Regions from separate parts of the Homo sapiens genome. Here region 2 is linked to region 1. The links are contacts of gene promoters, found by promoter capture Hi-C in blood cells and fetal thymus (Javierre and others, 2016). All regions are on one chromosome and are shown on one strand. The core of a region is centred on a gene start or on the middle of the fragment in contact, and the rest is flanking DNA. Distances in the headings are between cores, read along the strand shown. Region 1 holds the start of MYO10 (myosin X). Region 2 holds the start of BASP1 (brain abundant membrane attached signal protein 1).

Region 1 (5,620 bases), core at 653-3,152:
AAAAACAGTTTTAGGCTTACATAAAAATTGGCCAGAAAGTACAGAGAGTGTCCATAGACCCCTCCCAGCCCCTCACCCTCACTTGCCCCTATTATTAACATGTTGCATTAGTGTGGTACATTTGTTATAACTGATGAGCCGATATGGAAAGTGACTTTTGAAATGACATGGCGAGGTTGCCCAACGTATCAGTGGCTGGGCTGATGCTGGGAACCACGTCACACCCACACACTCACTTCAACAATCTCCCTGGTAATTTCTCTGGCAGAGATGTTGTGTGCAGATTAATACCATAATGACTGTAATTGTTCTGCTCCAGTATCTGAACACCAGTGGTTGCAGGACCCATTTGACTAAGCACTGGGATTGTTGGTATTTATCCTGACTCCATCTTCACTTTCCTTGCGACCTTGGACACAAGCTTTAATGGCTCAGCGCCTTAAGCGTGTAAACCTGTGAAACAGAACAACATTGCACAATATCATTAACTAATTTACACCTTGACTCTTTCTAAAGGGAAGTGAGGTGGGAGCAATGATATTAATGGTGAAGAACTGGACTGGGATAAGTTACAAACATGCTTGACTTTCCCCATAAGGATTACAGAAGGATGTTTCATTCATTCATTCATGCTGTGAGACAGCCTGGGGATACTCATCTTAAAGCACAGTCCTTCCCCAACAGTCTTAGGAATAAATCCTAGAGTGGGCATCTAGCCCAGTGGTTACGGGGAGCTTGGGTGGGGTGAGTGGAGTAGCATCTTTGGGAAGGGTTCCTTCCCCTGGAAGGTGTGACTTTGTGAGCTGAGTTTTAAAGGTTGAGTAGCAGTTGGCAAATTCCCTGGAGAGAGCATCTCAAATCTTTTGTGCTGAAGAACCAGCCATTTTTGTTCCCAGTCGGCCAGGTACCAATACACTGCGGCGCCAGGTGTGACTCACCACGTGAGTCTGACAACACCCAAACTGGTTTATACTCGGTTCAAAGAGTCCACTGATCATGTGCTTGGATGTCGTGGCATTATTAAATTGCTACAAACGTTTACTCTTAATTTCTCTACTTGTTACAAGCTTTCGTTCAGCACAGGACCAGGTAGCACCTGAGGGGCACCTGGAAAGCAGATTGTTCCAGCCTGCGTTCTAACAAGGTTCCCAGGTGACCCTCGCACAGCATAAAGTTAAAAGAACTGCCCTAGGGGAAACGGGACTCAGTGCCAGGTGGGTTTGATCATTCGTCCATCTCAGTGCCATCTGCCATCTCTGCTTCCTTGAGGTCTAGAAAAGGGTTACATTTTTAAAGGTGATATTGGCCACGTCCCCTTCCAGTTTCAAAACTACATTTCCCCGCTGTTACGCAAACGTCTTAAGCAAACCCGACTGCAGGACAGAAAGTCAACACGGGAATGCAGCTTCCAGAAATTCTGATTAGCCTCCGTCTTCCGCTTTGATCTGGCCCCGCAGCCCCGGCAGCTCCGCTGACCGCGCTTCCTTCCCGAGATTGCTAGTCTACCGGGCTGCATTAATGAGATCCGTGTTGAGCCGGTTCCCGGGTCTGCTAAACATGAAAGGCACAGAAGCCCCCAGTCCCTTCTCCTCCCCTCTAAGTGATTGTTTAGTCTCTCTCTGCAGAGGGAAGAGTTAAATCCCCTCCCCACGCCTACGTGGGAAGACCTGGGGAAACACGCGGCCCCCTCCCGGGTCCGCTAACGAGCCTGCGGCTGCTTCGGGCTTAGAGTGGGCGGGGCCTGGTCGGGAAGGGGGCGGGGCGCTCCGCCCGGGCGGGGCCAGACGGTGTGGTTGGCGGAGGGCCAAGCTCCTGGGGGCGGGGCCGCGAGCGGGAGGGCGGGGCCGGCTGCGGGAGGGCGGGGCCGGCTGCGGGAGGGCGGGGCGAGGTCGCTGGGCTGTAGTCCCGCGGGCGAGAGCTGGCTGAGCCGCGGCGCGGGACTGCTCACCTCCAAGCGCTCGCGCGGGGATCGCGGCTCCTGCTCACTTTGCGGCCCGCTGTCCTCCTGCCCGCCCCGAGGGCCCCCGGCCGGAGCGCAGAGGGAGGGGGCCGCGCTCGCCAGCACCCCGCCGCCTTCCCCCGCCTGGGGGAAGAATGTGCCACCAGCTGTTCTCCGCTTGCGAGCGCTGCGCCCAGTAGTGAGGAACTTGGAGGAAGAAGAGACAAAGGCTGCCGTCGGGACGGGCGAGTTAGGGACTTGGGTTTGGGCGAACAAAAGGTGAGAAGGACAAGAAGGGACCGGGCGATGGCAGCAGGGGAGCCCCGCGGGCGCGCGTCCTCGGGAGTGGCGCCGTGACACGCATGGTTTCCCCGGACCCGCGGCGGCGCTGACTTCCGCGAGTCGGAGCGGCACTCGGCGAGTCCGGGACTGCGCTGGAACAATGGATAACTTCTTCACCGAGGTAAGTGCGCTCCCAGTCCGACCTGGCCTCCGGAGCCCAGGGAGAGAGGCGTCTGCCCACCACGCCGCGCGCCCTGGGTACTTTTTCCTAAGCCCTGGAAGGCGCAACTTTCTGGGAGTCTCCTGAAATCACCCCCCATCCCCCCGCGGAGTCTCTGATGAGTAAGCCCGGGCAGGTTTTGTTTCGTCCTGTCCCGCGCTCGCATTTTGCTCCGGGAGGTAGCGAAGGTGCGTTTCCGTTTGCGTGGGTGGCTGGCTCTCGGGGCGCCCTGGGACACCCGCGCCAGGTGAGGCGGCGCGCGCCGGGGCGCGGGCGGGGCGATCCGCCCGCTCGACTGCCCGGGTGCAGGAAGCCCAATAAAATGTTCAGCGGGGACCTGCCTTTCTCCAAGAAAGGTCTTGTCTGGTATTTCCTTTGCAAAACGTGCGGGCTTCCTGTGCAGGGGTTCAAACACTTCCAGAGGAGACGGCTTAATGAAGTGTGAGAAGGAGAGGCAAGGGTTTAATCGGTTACTTTGCTCGCCGAGAAGTGCTCTTTTAAGGCTTGGGATAACTCCAGACCCTGGGATCAAATGATCATGTATTTGTGTAGAGTGTCCATGCAGATTTTGAATTCGAATGTAAAGAAAATTCGTTTAGGGCAAACAGTGGCTATTTTAATAGATGAAACGGATGCCCTCTTTAGGGTCGTTGAGGGTGGGACACTGAAACTTAACTTGAGAACCCTTTTTCCCCCTTTGGGATCGAGACTTACTGTGGTTTCTTGGCTCCCTTTCCTTTCTTGGTTGTGTTTATTTAATAAATTCTGTTTAAGTTTGAGGTTTGAAGTGGCTCAAAGTAAACTTAGTTGACTTGAGAGAGTCTGATGTGATTTTCGTTGAAAGCCAGGGAATGTTTTCTGAGTGCAGAACCGCTTTGGAGTCTTCCAGCAAATCAGATTGATGAGGGCTTGCCTCTGTGTTAGCCGACTTGGTTTATCTGATTTAATTGGATATAATATTTCAAGTCATTCTGCTTTCTGCATGCTCACTGACTGTATTCTCAGACAGCTATTCATACTGGCCAAAGTGATAAATGCATTCTTGTTTAGTAGTCATATCTAGTTTTTAAAAGTGGTGTTTCAGATGTGATACCCACATTCATTGTGGAAGGAAGACTAGAAAGGAATTATCCATCAATACATATTTTTCCTTTTCTTAAAAAAAGTGAAATATATATAATTGTGAGACGCTCGCATTTTCTAGTCCATAGACTTTTGTTTTCATGCTTGTCGAAAGGCACCAGAACTTTCTGCAAGAGTTGCACGTTGTCCAGTGGTAAAGGACCCTCGGGCTACAGTGAGTTCCGGTGTTTAATTGCTTGCATCTGTAAGAAAACGGAGGCCCTGCCCCTAGGGCAATGATTCTTAACTTTGTTGTTTTTGTGTTCTGGGTCCCTTAGAAAATCTGATGAAAATATAGAAATTTGTATTCAGTTTGCACGGATCTCACTCCTCCTGTAGCCTGTCTGAGCACCACAGGGGTCCGTGGCTCCCCCTTGGGGAGAACTCTGCCCCCTAGTGCAAGTGGGGGGAACATCAGGATAACGCGCTACAGCGTCCTGATCTCCTGTTACCCGGTGAGACTTTGACTTTTCAAAGTACTCTTTTCATCTTGCACTGGATACCTTAGTTCAGTGTAAGGGGCCTGGTTGTTGGATTTTATTTCTGTGATCAATATTATTTTGCAGTTGGCCATTAGTGATCTTCTACTTTCTCCTCTTCATTTTGTAGACAGAATCTTAACCCAAAGATATGAGTAAGTCCCTTGCCCAGCTTTGAAGAGCTTGTTCACGAATCCAGAGCCTTTTTCCTTTGCTGCTGGTGACTTTGGTATTTCTGGGAACTTTTCGCTTATTTTAAGGTTATACTTTTAATCTTGTGATGTATGTGTATTACAATATTAACTTCTAATCAGCCGTGAAAGTTCCACCCTTAAATCTAATCACTTTGAGTGGGAAGGAAGCAGGGCCAGTCAGAGAGGTTAAATAGTGAGGTATTAATTGTAGACATACTCTTAACATAGATCCCAGCTCCCCTTTCTCTCTCTCATGTCTTGTAATGGAGCATCCTTTTGTTAAATTGTCCAGTGAAGAAAATGCTGTAATTAATGTCCTGTTAGAATAGAAACAGCGAGTGTGGAAGTGATATATTCCCCAAGGACAGCTAAATTGTTTGGCCTCCTTATCACTAAGTAGAATTCTGTCTTTGCTAACTTTTCCCATTGTGGCTTAGGGGTAAATGACTTGTTGCTTGTTGGACAACAGTTTAAAGCCAGTGCTAACAATTGGGGAAAAATTACTGAATGAGATGTTGCCTGTTTAGCTTTGTGTATGAATGGCCAAATAATAAGGAAATGGGAGCTGCTTGTGATTCGCAACTGCTATTTCTAGCTAGACCAGGGTTTCTCAAACCTGGTACCATTGCTGAGTAATTCTTTGTTGTTGGAGGCCGTCCTGTGTGTTGTAGGAGGTTAAACGCATCCCTGGACTCTACTCAGTAATTGTTAACCCTATCCCCCAAGTTGTGACAACCCGAAAGGTCTGCAGACATTGCTGAATGACAGGGGAGCAAAATCACTCCCAGTTGAGATCCACTGAGCTAGACCTGTGAAGCAGTTGTTTGGCGGTATTAATTCCTATTTGTGTTGCAGGCACAGCCTTGTCTGCGCTTCCCTGTTTTAAATAGGATTTGGCCGGGTGCGGTGGCTCAAGCCTGTAATCCCAGCACTTTGGGAGGCTGAGGTGGGAGGACTGCTTGAGCCCAGGAGTTCAAGACCAGCCGGGGCAACATGGTGAAACCTCATCTCTACAAAACTTAGCTGAGTGTGGTGGTATGCACCTGTAGTTCCAGCCATTCTGGAGGCTGAGGTGAGCCCAGGAGGTCCAGGCTGCAGTGAACCATGATTGCACCGCTGCGCTCCAGAGCAACAGACCCTGTGTCACAAAATAGATAGACTCTTACTGCCTGCTAGATTGATTGATTAATTAGATAGATAGTGTCTTACTGCGCGCCAGGGGGAAGCTTGCAAAGCTTGTGCCAGTCAGCTGACAGCTGCTGACTTCAAAATGTTCTCCAGGATTAGAGAAACTGAGCATGCCACATTCCTCAGTTTCAGTTTCTTCATGGCCTTCATTAGAATTTTATGGCTCCCCTCGAGTTAATTGTGTGTATGCTTTGGG
Region 2 (5,914 bases), core at 709-3,208, 280 kb before region 1:
GTTAATTGATGCAAATTAAGAAAGCCACCCTCACTGCAGTAAGATATGTTACAGGAAAAAGAACAATGAACAGTACTAGAAAGGAAAATAACAGTGTGCGGGTACAAAATATTTAATCCACAATTTGCCTTCATCCTCATCAAGGCAAATCTTAATTTTGGTCAATTGAAATCAGCAAGAAAGCAAAAGATGAGAGACAGCCTGGAAAAGAAGAAACACACACACAGGCGGGAAAAACTGTCATTGGTGTCCAAGGGTTTCCCGCAACATTTAGGGCAAACGCCTTTGTTCCTCGGCTCGGGAGGGGAGTGGGTGGCTGGATGATGGAGATGGGATGGGGCTGCCGGGCCCTCCACACCCTGCTCTCCGGCGCATGCGCGAGGCCAAGACAAAGGAATAGGTAATTACAGTCCCGATTCATTCATTTTGCCTGCAGTATACTGGGGGTCTGTTGGCCCGGGCTGTAATCCCGGGAGGTGGGGGTGGGGGGTCGGTCCACAACCCTATAGCAGAAGGCCATTTCGACGCTAGTGTTGGGTTTTAGCCCGCCCCACAGTGCGAGTGGCCGCGGGGGAGACAGAGGTGTTGTCAACCTGTACAAGGTCCTAAAAAATGCACCCATGTGTGCTGTGCTAATTTCAGCAGAGTGAGAATTACATGGGCAAGGGCTGTCCACCGAGTTCGTTTCAAGGCGGAAATGTCTCTGGGGACGCAGATAAGGAGCCTGGCCAAGCGTTCGATGAATATTCATGAAAAGAATGCGGTTTGCAGCCGCGCATTGTGCGTGCGATCGGATCCAGGATTCCGCAATTTTTATTTTTCTGGAAATGGAGGGGGGACGGGGGCGGGGGGAGCAGGAACCGGGCGCCGGGTTTCAGCTTTAGCGCTTTGGGCAAAAGCTGCTCAACCCCAACCCTACGCTCCCAGCGGGGCTGAGCCCAGTTAGGGCCGCGCGCTGTCAGGTTCAAGCCCACACCCCCCGGGCCCGGGCCGGGGCCGGGACCCAGGGCGGAGGCGCCTGGCGCATTCTTGGAACCAAAGGCTCGAAAAAACAAACTGCTCCGAGGCAGCCCACGGGTTCGTAGGAAGGCAATTCCGCCACTGACGAGGCTGGGGCTCCGATCTGCTCGGGAGGTGCTTCTGAGTGCACGTCGCCGTGTGAACCTCGTATTCCTTGGCCCCAGAACCAAGATCCAGGAGTCCCATGGGTCGAGAAAACCCGTTTGCCAAAGCAAAAAGCCACCCACTTCCTTCTGATCGGGCCAGATTCCCCATCTTCTTTCTCCCCGGACTCCCGCCCCACCCCACCCCCACCCTCCATCTTTGGCTGCTGCGCCCCTCGCCCCGAGCGCTTTCTCCCAGGCTGGTAAGGGCTCCGATGACGGAAGCGCTCCCTTCAGCCCACAGAACCGTCTCCCCGGGACTCAACGCACTGAGGGGGTTTCGCATTCGGCAATTCCTCCCGTCACCCGCAGCTCCTCTCCCCGACAGCCCCCTCCCCCCAGCTCCGTTTACCAACCTCGCCGCCCCCCTCACCCCTCCACCATGCGAGCGGCTGAAGCCTCCCACTTCTGGGCCCCCCATCACCCGGGATCCCCGAAGTGCGACGGAGCCCTCACAGAGGGACCCCAGGCCCTTGCCGTCCAATCCGGGCCCACATCCCTGCTGCCCGCTGCATGAAGGGAGAGCCCGGGGGCTGCGGGGCGGGGCGCGGCGCGGTGGGGGACGGAGGCCCCCGGGTCCGCGGCGGCGCGGGGCCACCGGGCGCGCCTCCTTACCGGCTCTGGGTGCCTATGCAGCCCCTGAGTTAGCGCGGTGCCGCCGAGAGGCCGGGGTCGCTGGCGTCGTCTGGCTGGTGCCTGGCCGCTGGCGGAGGCTCTCTCCCGGCTCGACGGCGGAGCCCGGAGCGAGGAGCCAGTTGGAGCGCTGCCGCCGCCGTCGTCGCCGCTGCCGCTACTGCCGCCGCCGCCGCCGCTGCAGCCTCTGCATTTCTCGCGCTCGCTCCCCCTCCCCTTCCTGCCCAGTGCCCTCCCCCCGCGCGTCCGCCCGCCCAGCCTCCCTCCTCCCGCGCTCCCCGCCCGCCTCTCTCCCCTCCCTCCAGCCCGGCGCCCCGCCCGTCTCCCCTCCACCCCCTCCAGCTCCATCTCCCCACCCCCTGCACTCCCTCTGCTCCCCTCCCCTCCTCCGGCGCAGACCCTCCCCTCTCCCCTCCAGCCTGGACACGCCCGCCTCCCCTTGACTCCCCCCAGCTCTGGGCCCCCACCTCCCCTCCCCTCCAGCACAGTCACCCCCATTTCTCTCCTATCCGCCATCCTGGTTCCTCCCTTCCCCCCACCTCCCAACTCTGTGCCCCGCCAACGTTTCCTAAATGCCCTCTATTCAGATCCCCCCTCCGCCTCCCCTCTCCTCTCCTCCATTCCTGCGTCCCCCTTCCCCCGCCGCGCCGCCTGGGCTGTCCGTGGACTTCTCCCACTCTCTCACTCTCTCACTCACTCTCTCTCTCTCTCTCTCTCTCTCACTCTCTCTCTCTCTCTCCCCCTCATTTATTTGGAACCGTTGGATAAGAAGTGCTCGGGCTCTCGCTCAGACTTAGGGAGCTGCCTCGAGGTGATGAATGACACCCCCTGGCACCAGCTACCCTTCTCAGACCCCAGTCCAGCCCGCTCCCGACGTCGACTACGATTCCGCTACCTCGGCTGGCAGCGAGGTTGGGGTGAGCCCCAGCTGCAGGCGCGTCTGGGCTGCGCCGCTGCAAACGAGTTGCGCACCTTGGGCGGCTCCGCACCTGCACCCGCACCCGCGGGGCTCAGCCCCGAAGGCTGCAGCTTCGGGGGAGGCGCGGTCGCCGAGGTCCAGCTGGTGGGGCGAGAGACGTCGCCCCTCGGAGGATGCTCTCGGAACTTGGGAGAGGAAGGAGGGAAGAGAAGAGGGGAAAGGGGCCGTCGATGTTTTTGATGTCTGTGCTTTAATGGAGGCCACCAATATTGAGAAGACGGGGTTGGCCGAGGCAGCCCGCACGCTGCTGCTTGCGAGCGCTCGAGTCAAAGCTAGGGCCAACCGCGGCTTGTCCGGGTGCCCTAAGGGGGCGGACACTTGGTTTAGCACCGGGACACAGAATAGCCACCGGGGTAGGAAGATGCGTTCACTTTGCTTACCTGTTGGCAAGAGGGACATACAAAAATAACGTAACGTGACATCGTTGACAACGGTAGCTCTTTGATTACACAAAAGCCAATTTTACCTTCCCGCAAAAGCCAGTTGACGCCTTTGGAACTTTTATTTGCGGCATTTTGGCGCCCTCTGGCTGTGTTTGGATCGCTTTCATGCTCGCCTGCGTCCCAGCCAAGAAAAAATCGATGGAGCTGCAGGTTGTCCTCAGGATGGTTCTGCCCTCAGGACCTGGGCGTGAATTCAGGGACAGGGTGGCCCTCCAGAACCGGAGTGACAAACTGTAACCATACTTAGGGAGGCAGACGTCAAAGGCAAGTACATCTGTATTCAACTGGGTAAAGGTAAGTGCATTTTCACTTAACAGGAAAATTAACTTATCGTAACTTTAACGTACATATTTGAATTAAGCAAAGTGGCAATATTTACTCAACTGCACTAGCGATTTTGCAGTGGAAACACTTGACGACCCTACTGTACACATTTACAGGTCATAGGAGGCAGCACCAAATTAGATTAATGCATGCCAGCTGGAAATGTTCAAATTTAAACCAAAGGTAAGAAAAAAGCGGGAACTGTTTGTTTTTTCCTGTTTCTCTTTCTGCCATTTAAAGTGAAATAAAAAGTTAGTGTAGTAAAATACCAGGGAAGCAAATTACAAATGAGGTTGCTTCTAAAGCATTTTATTCTTTTGAATATTTATTTCCCTCACACCAGTACACCATCTATAAAGCTAAATGGAGGATGCAGGTTTTCCCACCTCCTTTTGGGGCCAGATATTTCTTTGTTGTGGAAGGCTGTCCTATGCACTGTAGGATGTCTGGCATTCATTGCTGGCCTCTACTAGCAGCCAGTACCACCCTCCACACACACCACCAGCACCAGCACCAGTTGTGACAACCAAAAATGTCCCCAGATATCGCCAAATGTCTCCTGGGAGGCAAAATCACTCCAGGCTGAAAACCACTGAGCTACATTTTCTTTCAACCTCTATGAGCAAGTCTCTAGGTTTTTACCCTATCGAATTAGATGAATATTTGCAATGTTCTGCTCAAGACATTTCCTGAGTTTGTTAGAGGAGCTGCCTACTTGTTCATTTAGCATTCAGGGTTTTTATCCTTGTGATCTTCCAGGCATGTAAATCATCTAAAAATTAGCAAATACATTTCCTCATTGTATTTGCAGTCTAAGCCTGTGGGTGTTATCTTCCTTCTCTATTCTCTTTTTCCAATTTTTCCAAAAAAAAAAGACAACATAAAAATTAATGTTCAGTACCTTCAGTGCTTCCAGCTAAATTTTCATGATGGAGAAAACAAACCTTTCAAAGGTGTGATTGGAATACAGATCACGGGTTACCATAGAAACCGGAGGCAAAAGCTTACACCAACAAGGAGAACTGCAGGTCTCCTTAATTTTGTCTTCCATCAGATTTAGTTGTTCTCTTAAAACATTTTTTTAAATTTTTTTAAAGGAGGGTGAGAATTCATTTTCAATGAGATAATGATGCAACTGACTGATAGTGCTATTAATCTTTAGAAGCTTTTACAGAATTTGTAGGTTTGCAGCAAATGGTTGCCAAAATGTTACCTCTCAATGTAACAATATTACTATATAAAATCCAATTTGGCGATGTTTTTAGTCTAATTTTTAGTTGTTCATCTAATATCATACTTTTTAATGTGTATGCTCTTTAAAACATTTTTTTAAACTGATGCTTAGGGAATAAATGAATAAACCTTTAAAGTTCTGAATTTTAGAAAACTGTTAACATTAACTATTGTGAATGTGTCTGTTTACATTATAGACTAATGATCTTGAGAACAAATATTAAGGGTGTAATTTATGATAAATTTAATTAGCTTTCACCATTATGCTCATGAAAAAAAGACTGTTTTACTCTCCAAATGGAATGAATGCATTTGTTTTTGACAAACAAAGCTGGATTTCATCGGTTATAAACTGAATTCCATTGTCATTTTTAATTGCCTGCATAACTTGCTCCAGGGAAGCATAACCTGCATTATGAAAATCATTATCCAAAAGATAAATTATTCGTGATTACTAATTTTTTTCTAAAAGATTTGTCTTTGCTTGCAATATAATGGTCTCATTGTCATTTAAATTACTAGTCAGTTTACAAAAATTTCCATGTGCCTTCAGCTTTTCAAATCATATCTATTGTGTCAACTAAGACACCTACAATAGATAATTATACAGACCTCATCAAGCCTCAAAACCTCACTCTTATCTTCCCTCTCCCCACCTCCCACATCACCCACCAAGGCCTAGCGTCTTTCTCAGTTCCCCATCCTTTCCTCTTAAATAGTAAAAAGAGGATTAAAATCTCAAATAAAAGATGTAGAACAAGAATGAAGCAGAAGCATGGTGACAGTAGTGTCACCCGAGTGTGACTCTAGCCACCTTTGCTTGACATCTTTCTGGATAGTTCCTGTTCAAGGCCACTGCATTAACCCAAACCCTCAGAAACCCATTTAGAGAATTTGAAAGTAAATTCAGCTCTACTGGTAAGTTTTCCGTGGAGGACCAACTTGCTGCAATTTGTTTACAAAATCTTATCTGCAAATTGCAAGCAAAAGGCCAGACAGTATTACAGATGAAAGTGTACGGCTTTTTTTCTCTTAAATATATTTATAATTTTTTAACCAAAGGAAAATATTGAAATCTATATATTCGTCTGTCTTCCTTCCTACCCCAACCCTACCCAACCCCACGAGAGTCATTCTGG

What was found. The method cuts DNA at HindIII sites, captures the fragments that hold promoters and counts their contacts. A CHiCAGO score of 5 or more calls a contact.
Region 2: a contact is called between the fragment with the promoter of BASP1 here and the fragment with the promoter of MYO10 in region 1, in 1 of 17 cell types (erythroblasts). The highest score is 5.6, in erythroblasts.

The regions. Positions count from the first base shown.
Region 1 is chr5:16,932,570-16,938,189 of GRCh38, reverse strand. MYO10 (myosin X) reads left to right here and starts at 1,902. Exons shown (of 41, transcript NM_012334.3): 1 at 1,902-2,402. The coding sequence starts at 2,382. The HindIII fragment of the contact is 4,395 bases long and covers 1,070-5,464 here.
Region 2 is chr5:17,213,675-17,219,588 of GRCh38, reverse strand. BASP1 (brain abundant membrane attached signal protein 1) reads right to left here and starts at 1,958. Exons shown (of 2, transcript NM_006317.5): 1 at 1,779-1,958. BASP1-AS1 (BASP1 antisense RNA 1) reads left to right here and starts at 2,167. Exons shown (of 3, transcript NR_027253.1): 1 at 2,167-3,512. RefSeq lists an enhancer at 58-838 and silencers at 873-1,192, 1,683-2,162. The HindIII fragment of the contact is 5,505 bases long and covers 1-4,547 here.